2 separate regions of the Homo sapiens genome follow, and region 1 is linked to region 2. The links are contacts of gene promoters, found by promoter capture Hi-C in blood cells and fetal thymus (Javierre and others, 2016). All regions are on one chromosome and are shown on one strand. Each heading gives the region's core, a stretch centred on a gene start or on the middle of the fragment in contact. The rest is flanking DNA. Distances are from core to core; before and after follow the strand shown.

Region 1 (5,749 bases), core at 87-2,586, 180 kb before region 2:
TCTTTCCTGGGACTAATCCTCACCTATGGACACATGGTGGAGGGGACCGCAGGCTCCTGAGGACAGCGCCCAGCAACCTGGACCAGGCATGGCTCAGCTGTGGCTAAGATGAGTCTAACAGAGTGGTAATTACTAGAAGCAACCACTTCAGAAAGCCAAAGACCAGAGCCAAGATCAACAGTCAGAAACAAGGTTGCCAATCCACACAGGACCTGGAGGAAGAGAGGGTGCCAGGCAGAACAACCAGAATGGGGACAGAGGGAGCCCACTCATTCATTTGATTAACAGTTATTGGTCACCTACCCACTTCACTCATTCAATCAACAATTTTTATTGGTCACCTATTGTGTGCCAAGAACTCCTCTAGATAACTGGCAATAGTGTGCCCTGTTTTCATTATATTTTGACAGGAAGGGATAAAAAGCAAATAGAAAACAAAAGGTAATTACAGGTAATGAAGTGTCATTAAGAAAATAAACCAGGAAATTATGCCATCGAGTAAAAGAGGAGGATGATCAGGAAAAGCTTCTTTAAGAGAACATCTGAGCTGAGATTTTAATGGCAAAGATGCTGGGCATGTGTTCTGGGGAGAAGACTTAGTTTGCTTAAGGGACAGAAAGAAGGTGAGGCAGAGAAGTAAATGAGGTTGAGGATAGGCAGGGTCAGGAGATGGCCTTGGAGGCCATGGTAAGGAATCTGGGTGGTACTGAGGGTGACTGGAAGCCACTGGCAGTTTTAAGCAGAGGAGGGGCACGGCTGGTGTTTTTTTCTAAACGATCACCCCAGTCCATGGAAAGGAGAATGCACAAGAATGAAAGCATGAGGCCCTAGGCAGGAGGCCCAGTGAGAGATGATGATGACCTGGACCAAAAGGTGGAGGGTTTTACAGAAATAACATACTTTGGAGATAGGGGAATAGGATTGCTGATGGAGTGGATGTGGGAACTGAAAGAAAACAAGAAAGTACATGAGTCCCAGGTCATCATTGAACACACAGGTGGCAGTGATATGATGCATGTGCCATAGTGCAGATGGTGTTGGTAGCTTTTTAAGTCACTCCTGTGGCTGCTGGCATGACCACGCCTGGGTCTTTAGAGGGGCCAAGGCAGAGAAGCCACAGTCAGCATCCAGGACGTGGCTGCACAGGACCATCAGAGGTAAGGCAGCCGACCTCTACCCAGCGGGTTATGTGAGCCAAAGCCACGGCTGACACATCTTCACTCCTCCCCAGACTGCCCTGAGTGGACCCAATCTTCCCACTTGGCCCCATCGTTCGCTCACCTGATTGTGCTTGGCGATGGCCTCATAGGAGCGCCGCATGGCCCAGAAGGCCTTGGCCTTCTCCCGCAGTGCATGCTCCATGTTCCTGCACTTGGCCTGACATGGGAATGAGAGAGAGGGAGGAAGACAGGTTAGGGCTGGAGGCTGGGCAGAGAGGGCAGACACATCACATTTACAACTGGGACTCCACTTCAACACAAGTGTAACTCAACTGCATTTGCCTAACCCCATCCATGCCAAGTGCTCTGGGCACAAATGGTAAGTAAGGTCCTGATCCTGAATCAGACATCCATGGGATAAAGAGCCCTCAGACATCCTGTAGCCCAGCCTGGTACAGACTGGGAGATGGGGCTGAGAAGAAGCAAGCTGCTCTCTCTCATGTTGGTCACAGCACAGGCCAGAAGAGTGTCCCATGTGGGCCAAAAGCTGGTTCATGCTGGGTCTGAATCCCTGAGCTGTGTGGACAACTGCAGACAGTGTGGTCATAGGTTCCCTCTGCAGTTTCCTAAACTGAATGGGTCTGCAATCTCTAATGTGAGGTGACTGACAATGGGGGTGGAGCCAGTCATTTCCCACGGGGTTCAGTTACCTCCCATGAGGCCTCACCTCAACATGCCCAACATGCCCCTCCATACCCCTCCTGCATCCTGACATTCTAACACTGCTTGTATCGCACGGAATACTTTAATCAGCAGGCACAAATACTTTTGGTTTAGTAGTTTTTGTTTCTTAAACTTTAATGATTGTTTCTGATGTCCTTGGACAACTTGAAGAACCACTAGAGTGTTTTAGGTTGGATTCCTGCCTCTTGTATCTTAGGCCTATCATTTTTTCTCCCTCATTATCCTTTTCGATCTACATTCTCAGAAAGCTTCTCAAGTTTTTTCTTAAGAAAAATAATTCAAATAATTATAAATGGTTATCATTTATTCAGTACTTACTCTGTGCCAGGGACAACACCAATTACTTGAGAAATTATGTCATTTAATCATTACTTCTCCCTAGTAGATAAGTAATATTATTGGCCCCATTTATAGATGAGAAAGTGAGGCACAGAAGGGAAATGACCAGCCCAAGGGCACACAGCTAGTATGTGGAAGGACGTGAACCTGGACAGCTATGGAGGCAGCTGCTGAGACAGCACCCAGTGATCCCTCCCTCCTGTGAGATGAGAGTGTTTTAAGCTGCTAAATGTCGGGGTGACTGGATATGCAGCAATAAATTATACAGATGTGTCGCCCAAAGCCTCATTCCCATCTGGACCTGATTTAGATGACAAATCTGGACTTTGGGCTGATGCTGTAAAGGGATGAGATGTTTGGAGAGCTTGGGAGAGGGCCAGTGCATTTTGCATGTGGGAGGGACATGACTCCTTATGGGGCAAAGGACAGATTCAGGCAGGCAGCCTCTAAAGTGGCCCCAGTGACCCTCACCTCCTGATACTCATGCTCTTGTGAAATCCCCTCCTCTGTGGGTGACTTGTTTCTAACCAAAAGAATGTGGCAAGTGATACTAAGTCACCTCTGAGGTTAGGCGACAAAGGCTGTGTACACCCTGCCTTCCTCTCTCTAGCTTGCTCACTGGGATGGTAGCCAGCTGCCCATGTGGTAATTTGCCCTGGGAGTGACTGCTGGGGCAAGAAACTGAGAGTGGCTTCTGACCTACAGCCAGTGAGGGACTCAGGCTCTCAGGCTAACAGCCCGTGAAGACCTGAATCCTGCCAACAACTACAAATGTGAGTGTAAATAAGGATCCTGCCCTAGCTGAGCCTTCAGATGAGACCACAGCTCCATACCTACAGCCCCTCATGACAGACCTTGAGGCAGAGGCACCCAGAGCTAAGGCAGGCCCAATTCCTGACCCACAGAAACTCAAAGATAATAAATGTTTGTTTTAAGGCACTAAGTTTTGGGCAATTTGCTAGGAAATAGAGAACTAGCCCATTGGTTAGAACTAGCCCACAGAACCCTGACTGCAGCCCCTCATGAGACACCTTGAGGCAGAGGCACCCAGAGCTAAGGCAGGCCCAATTCCTGACCCAAAGAAACTCAAAGATAATTAATGTTTGTTTTAAGGCACTAAGTTTTGGGGCAATTTGCTAGGAAATAGAGAACTAGCCCATTTGTCCCACTCAGTAGCCCATTCCTTTAAGTCTTTCACTACAGAAAACAAAATGGTTACTGATTTCATTTTCTGCAGTTCTGTTTTATTTTCAACTCATTTTGATCTTTTAATCTTAAGTGACAATATTTAAGATTTTTAAACTTTGTTTTCTGTAGTATATCATCTCTAATTTGCATGAGTGCCCCCACAAAACCACTGAAATGTCATTCCAATGTTTTATTTTATAGAATGAGATTTTTGATACAAAATCATGTAATACAGTTCAAAAGGAAAATTTAGTGATTTGCCAAATTAGTTAAGTGACAGGAGTGAAGCAGCTGTCCATACGCATTACCCAAAGGTGTGCAGGCCCCAAAACAACACAGTTCAGCCCCTGCCCTTCAACCCTGGCCCTTAGGAATTTATGGGACAATAAGGATGGGAAGGGGATAGTCCCTTGATCTTCTCAAACTTTTCAATCACTTGGAGAGTTCTGGTTTCCTTCAGAAAAGACCAATCCTAAAATGGCCCTTCTCTGAGATGTCAGCTGATGAGACTAACCAACAATTATATTACTATTGCTAGCAAGCAGTTACTATTAAGCATGTACTAGACACAAGGCACTAAATTATGCACTTTACAAACATTCTATTTAATTCAATTATTTAATTCGAATTCTCCCTATAAGGTTAAGCACTGTGAGTCCCATTATACAGAGGATCAAGTTAGACCCAGAGGAGGTAACCTTCTTGTACATGTCTCCTGGGGACACATGGGAACTCGTTTCTTCATAATATATTCCTGGGGATAAAACTGCTGGGCCACCATATGTGTCTTCACTTTACTGCGTAATGCCAAATTGTTTTCCAAAGCAGTGGTACCAATTTTTACAGCAAGAGCAATGTTAATAGAAAATGTTTATTGACCACTTCAATGTTTATTTTTAAGTACTCAGTAAAGTATTGTCCATTTTTCCATTGCGTTGCCTGCCATTTTCCTAACTGGTTTGTGGGAATTTATTATATATACACAATGTATGTCCTTGATTAGTTAGAGGTGTAATGAATATTTTCTACTTCATCATTTATCTTTCTTAATTGAAATATGGCCAAATTTATTAGTCTTTTCCTTTAGGATTAGTATACTAGTTTTAAGAAACACCTCCCTACACTGAGATCACAAAAACAATCGTATTATTTCCTCAAAGCTTTATAGCTTTGCATTATTATTGTATAGCTCTGTAGTATTTTCTCAAAGCTTTATAGCTTTCCTTTCACATTTAGGTCTGATGTGGATACCTGGAGTTTATTTTTGCACATGGTGTGACCAGGTAGCTCATTGTCTCAGCACCATTATTTAAAAAGACCATTACTGCCCACTGGTCTGCAGAGCCACCTCTGTCTTAAATCAGACACAGATCTGTTTTTTGGTTCTCTCCATCTGTTTCTCTGGCCCATCTGTTTATCCTTGTGCCAACATCACACAGCCATAATTTCTATAGCTGTAAAAAAGAGAGGATTTCTGATAGGTTTCTCTTCAAGAATGTCTTGGCAATTTTTGGCCCTTTGAGGGTCATATAAATTTTAGAATCTGTGAAGTTGCATAAAAATAATCATGTTGAGATTTAGATTAGTACAATATTGTCTCTATAGATCAATTTGGGGAAAACTGAAAGGCTTAAATACTGACTTTACTAATCCACGAACATAATATATCACACCAGTTACTTAATGTTCTTTGATAGCTCTCAACGAAGTATATTTTTCCCTATCAGAGTTTTGCGTATCTTTTATTAATTTCTTCCTAGTTATCTTATTTTTTATATTATTGTAAACATATTTTTAAATTAAAAAAACCCAAAACAGGGTCCCCCTCTGTCACCCAGGCTGCAGTGCAGTAGTAGCACAATCATAGCTCACTGCAGCCTCCTGTGCTCAAGTGATCCTCCCACCACCTCAGCCTCCCAAGTAGCTGGGACTACAAGCATGCACCACCACACCTGGCTAATTTGTTTTAACTTTTTGTAGAGACAGGCTGGACTATGTTGTGCAAGCTGGTCTGAAACTCCTTGGCTCAAACGATCCTCCTGCCTCAGCCTCCCAAAGTGCTGGGATTACAGGTGTAAAACTCCCTGCCTATATTTTATTTTCTATTTGCTAGTGATACATAGAAATACAACTGGTTTTGCATCTTGATTTTGGATTCAGCATTCACCTAAACTTATTAATACTTATGATTTAACTGTAGAATCTTTATTTTCTACACATAGAAATCTCAGTGCAAAAATATGCAACCATATTATCTACACATGCCAGTTTTGCTTCCCTTCTTTCCAAACCTTACATCTTTTATTTATAATTATTGG
Region 2 (5,792 bases), core at 362-2,861:
ATTGACAGTAATTAGAGGGAACTTCCACCTCTGGTTAGGAAGATGTCAAAAAAAAAAGAGCTGCACACTTTGACCCTCTAAGTGGCTGGATTGGCAGATTTGGGGAAGGGGAGAGAGTGGGATGAGGTCCCTAATTGTAAAGTGGGTCTGGGTGAATGGGGTACACAGAGAAGCCTATGTAAAAGAGATTGCATACGTAAAGTGCTCGGACATCAGTGTCCCCACTGGGCTTGTGTCGCTGCTCACGTACACCAGTTCCAGGCCACCCCCACCCCACCCCCACACTCACTGCAGCATCTCTAGCCTGCCTGAATCCTGGTTCCGTGGAGGTCAAGGTGATTTGAGCTCACTTCCCTGTCCATGGTTCTACTAATTCTGTTTTCAACTTCTCACCCACCAGTCCACATTCTCCTCTTTTTACTAACATTTCCTTCTCCCAAAAGGCTGCTTCCATCCCACCTGGTTCCTTTCTGCTGTCCAGAACCTCCCCAAGCATACAGGTCTCAGCTTTTTCACAACTGGCAACATTACACTCCCAAAGAAGCCCCTCCATTAGAGAAACCAGTATGATTTCTTCTTCCAAATAAATGCACTCAAGGTGCTTAGGGGCTAGAGAGTGTAATTCTAGCTTTTATATCTGTTTTGCTCAATCACAGAAGTTTAACACTCAAGGTTGGGTGGGATCTTGAAGGTCATCTGAACAACCACACCAGCTGATGGAGGAATCCACTTCACAAATGCCAGCCTTGGAACAAGCCCAGCTGTAAAGAACTTGAAGAACCTTGGAAGGTATTTACCTTCTAAGTCAGTAAATAGCATTGCTGTCTTTTAGCCCTTTTAAAGGACATAGACAATTTACAGAATGAGTAAATAAATGAACAAAAGAATGGACAGCAGTAGTAAAGACATAGGAGCAGATACAGTGTAACAAAGCCACTATTCCTGAGACTGGGCTAGCCATCCTAGCCAGGAGGTGTTCATCGTCACCTGGCTGTGGACAGCTCCAGCAGGGACAACCAGGAGACTAAAATATTTCTAGGAGCAGGTGACATCCAGCATTCAGACATAACCCCCTCCTGAGTACCCAGAAACTGCTAGTATTTCTTTGACCCCATATCCACAAGCTCTCCACATGCATGCCGCCCTCAACATAAGCCTTGGGTACCTTTCTTACCTGTGGTTACAGAAGAAAACAGGTCATTGAAAGGATGCAGAGAACCAGCCTGGCTTGGAGATTCTGGGCAGCTGACAAAAGTCACCCCAGAAATAGAGTGGCAGGTACAGAATAGAGCTCAGTCACTTCATTTCATGGTCAAACAGAGGCTGAAGAGTGAGGGTTTAGGAGACACCCCGTCGAGCAGAAGACTTACATGAGAGGCATTTGGCTTCCCGGGGACAGCTGGGCAAGCTCTGCAGAGAGGTGGGTTTTCCTGGGGCTGTCCAGCTCTGGCAGCCAGAACGGCTTCATGCAGGTGCCACTGAGGACAGCCCAGGCAGCCCAGCACAAGCGATTCTGCAGGTGAAACCCAAGCCTGGCCCCAGGAGGGGATGAGGGCTCAGCACACAAGCACACAGGCTCACGCTGTTCTCTCTCTCTCTCACACACACACACACATACACACACACACACACACACACAGCCTCTCTGGAGGGGAAGGAGGAGGAGCCTGTGACTCTCCAGCCTATGTCCGGTGGGGACAGATGCAGCTCTGTCCAGTCACCACGATGCTCCCTTCCCTGCTCTCTGGACCCCTGGGCTCCAGGATCACTGCCTGGGGCCCCTGAGTGCACCCACAGGTTCTGGGTCCTGGGTCCTGGGTCTGTCTGTCAATACAGCTTCACTGTATGTGAATCCACTTCACAAATTCCAGCCTTGGAACAAGCCCAGCTGTAAAGAACTTGAAGAACCTTGGAATGTATTTACCTTCTAAGTCAGTAAATAGCATCGGAAAAATTGGAGTAAGGACAGAGCTGCCAGCCAGCCCACGGTTCTCTCCTTGCCCTCCTCCCCTGTGAGACCCCTCCCCCCACCACCCTAGAGGACCACCGGTCACTTGCGCGGCCACCCGGTGTGGCTGCTTCTCTGTCACCCCGTCAGCCTCCTTGCAGGTGACCTTGCCTTTGATTTTCCGGTGAAGCCTCCTTTTCTCTAGTATCAGATGAGTACTCCTGTCTCCTCCTGTGCATGGCGAATCCTGGCCCACTGTGATCTTGACATCACCCCATCTATTAACAGCCTGGGCTTTCTCAGATCCTCCCTCTCTGCCCCACTCGTTCCTTCCCTTCAGCCCCTAAAGAAGCTCATCCTCCACCCTAAAAACACTCTGCTTTCGGCCTTTCCCTCAAGCTACTTGCTAGCTCATCTCCCTTATTTTGTTAAAAGCAAAGGCCCTGGACATGACCCGGCCACAGACTGCTGAGGCTGAATTTCTAGCTCTGCTCTTGAACAGCTGCATAATCCTGGACAGGCCTCTTCAGCTTCCTATGCCTCAGTTTCCTCAGATGTAAAAAGAGGATGTGAACAATGGCTCCTGCCTCATAGGTTTACTATGAGGAGTCAATTAGCACAAATAAACACAAACACACACGTGCATTGTGTGTACACATGTGCATGCGATTGCTAGAATCATCTTTTGAGAGAATTAAAAGACATAAAATACCAAAAAACCATAAACACTCATATTTCCACTATTCATAATTAATAAATGTTAATATTTTACCATATTTACATATATATAAAGTTAGATGTATACATTTTTCATTTGGAGACTGAAGGAAGGAAGGAAGGGAAGGAGGGAAGAAATAAGAAAAAAGAAAAGAAAGGAAAGGAAAGGAAAGAAAAGAAAAGAAAATCACAGCTTGTATCCATCAGGATTCTTGGTTGCAAGCAATAAAAACCTACCAATTACTTTAAGTGGAGAATGGTTTTATTGAGGAACAACGGGTGGTTCACAGAAGCACCTAGAAATCTGGAGGGGCTGCTTGGAGAGCAGGGAGAAGAGGGAAGCCTCTGCCCCGCGGCCAGCATGGTGGGTCCTGCTGCTACAGAGCTGCATGTGAACCTGGCACCGTCATGGGTGCCGCTGTCACCGCTGTCCCTGGAAGCAGCCATCCCTGCTGCTGCCACCGCTGCCACAGTTAATTCTCCTCCAGCCCTGCTCCTTTGTGTCACTAGCTCTGCATACAAAGGTCGAAACAGATGCATCTGATTAAAGCATGTGCTCCCAAACCAGATGCCAGGAAGGCCAAGGAAGCAGGAATCTGGGGTTTTGAGCTTCTATGTGGAAGGTGGGCTCTGCCCACTTCAAGAGGGGGGACATTCCTGAAATATTTGAAAGTTGTTTCAATGCTGGAAAGCACCCCCCTCCCCGCCACACGAAATCTAGCTCTTTGGCTCCTAACATCAGTGCACACTCGACTTTCCATCATCACACTTTGAAAAAAAATGTTTACATCTAATTGTCCTAAAATTTTCACCCAGAATTTGTTTTAATCAGGTTTGGTAAGACATGCAGACACAGAAGTGACTGTCATAAAGGAAGGAGTTTATACTCACAGATCCCTAGAAACAGGAGGGGTGGCACATTCCCGCAGGGCCACACAGAGCAGCACCAGGGAGTGTCAGGAGGTGGAGGGCACAATGTGGGAAGCCTGGCCCCGAGCCTTTATGAGGTTTCCCCGGGAAAACCAGGGCAGTGCAAGGAAGCAGCTTGCGATGAGATAGTTGGAATAATCTTGGTGGGCTCTGAGCTATAGGGATGGTCTCTAATTGCCCAGTACCTAGCTCTGAGGTGATTTGTGGCAGGAGGAATACTGGCTCGGTGTGTGAGAGTTAGACAAATGGTGCTGTTGGGGATACTGAGTCAAGATTAGGCAGAGGGCTTGTACTATAACTGTAGTGCACCTGCAAAAGCTGATTGCAGGGGAGATGTAACAAAGTTGGCTGTTAGTTTGGCCGTGCATATAGTGGATGCCAAACATACAAATGTAGAATCTAGCAGAATGCAACCATTCCTCACACAAGCAAAAAGCCTCCCCCTAACCCCACCCTAACTCCACAGGGATAGAACCCCAAGTCTCACCAGTGACCATCCAGCTCCAAGTCCAGCCTCCTGCTCTAATTCCTGACACATGTGCCACCTTGAAATTCTGTTTTCTATGGAATAAATCATAACGTTCACTCAAAATACACACATAGAAAGTAATGGGGTGGGCAGAATATGAAATAAATTAGCAAAGCCAGTAAGAAAATACAGACAGGTACAGTGCTCATTGTAGTAATAGATCATGAGGTTAGAGTGGGTATGTATTGGTTTCCTCTCCAGCCATTCTCCAGAATAAGCATCTACTGTATTCCACAAAAGCCAGATTGCTGCCTTCTCAAGCATATAAGGCATTCACTACAATCAACTTGCCACCAAGTGAATAATTTGAACCTCTGGGCTCTGCCAGCACATCCAGAGACCAGGGTTTGCCACTACTGCTGGGAAGATGAGCATTCGGGCCACATTGGGAACAGCTTCTGTAATCGGAATCACTTAAGTTTACAATGAACCACTGACATTCTATGAGACCCATCTACCTTAGGTAGCATTTGGAGATCATCAAAATTACCACTTCTGCATCCTTACAGCCTTTGCTGGTGGCCCTAATCCTTGGGATTCCTCTGGAGACATTGTATTAATTGCATTTATGGTTTTGTTAGGTAGGGGGCACTACACAGCTTCCTCTTGCTTCCTCCTTCAGCAGACAGATGATGGACATGTGCCATTGATAGGTTTGGATTTGTGTTGCCACCTAAATCGCGTGTTAAATTGTAATCCCCAATGTTGGAGGTGGGGTGTGGTGGAAGGTGACTGGATCGTAAGGGTGGATTTCTCCCTTGCTCTTCTCATGATAGTGAGTGAGTTCTCACAGGATCTGGTGTTTAAGAGAGTGTAGAATCTCCCCCTTCTCTCTTCTTCCTTCTGTTGTAGCAATGTGAAGACGTGCCTGCTTCCCCTTTGCTTTCTGCCATAACCGTAAGTTTCCTGAGGCCTCCCCAGCCATGCTTCCTGTACAGCCTGCAAACCGTGAGCCAATTAAGACTCTTTTCTTTATAAATTACCCAGTCTCAGGTATTTACAGCAATGTGAGGATGGACTAATACAGCCATGCACTGAGAAGTTTCCCTAACTCTAACCTTCGGACTGAAGGTTCAAACCACTTCCTGCACTTTCCTGTAATTGAGATGATGGTTCTTCCTCACCAATGCACCTCTCAAGGTCTTGGAAAAAGAGGTCTCTGATGAGTCCTTCCACATCAGGAGGAAGGCGAGCAGGTCATATATTAAGAAATCCATTCCAATATTCCTGTTCCTCCAAGTCTTCCATTACATTGAACTAATTTCTGGTATCTCATCTTCACTTTGCATGGACTACCAGTTGAGCAAACTGTGAGTACTTTCTCCAGCTGTTCGACTTTGTAGACTAAACCCAAATCTTTAGAAAGCACACCCCTGTCAGCCAAACTCCACTTCAACTTTCTGTCCTTGGTCTAGGACCTCAAGAGTCTATTCCTGTGTATATTCACCAGATTGTGACCACAAACAAGCAGAATCTTGCAGACTTGGGGTGTGTTTTACGTTTCTTCTCAGGTTTTCCCATGCCCCACCTGCCAGGACATGTAGGGATCTGACTCTAGTTGAAGTCTAGAGGCAGGGAGGGGGTGGATCATGAAGAAAACTGGTTTACCTGGGGTGTGTGGTGTATCCTTCAGGCAAGGATGTGACAGGATTTTCAGCTTAGGCAGGA

The links. Contacts are between HindIII fragments. The CHiCAGO score rates a contact against its expected background, and 5 or more counts as called.
Region 1: a contact is called between a fragment that was not itself captured here and the fragment with the promoter of CHRNA2 in region 2, in 2 of 17 cell types (fetal thymus and naive CD8 T cells). The highest score is 5.7, in fetal thymus.

What each region holds. Positions count from the first base shown.
Region 1 is chr8:27,297,183-27,302,931 of GRCh38, forward strand. It overlaps TRIM35 (tripartite motif containing 35), which reads right to left. Exons shown (of 6, transcript NM_171982.5): 2 at 1,282-1,377. Among named protein-coding and RNA genes, the nearest start is that of TRIM35, 11 kb to the right of the region's middle. The HindIII fragment of the contact is 1,627 bases long and covers 524-2,150 here.
Region 2 is chr8:27,477,650-27,483,441 of GRCh38, forward strand. CHRNA2 (cholinergic receptor nicotinic alpha 2 subunit) reads right to left here and starts at 1,612. Exons shown (of 7, transcript NM_000742.4): 1 at 1,175-1,612. The HindIII fragment of the contact is 14,056 bases long and covers 1-5,792 here.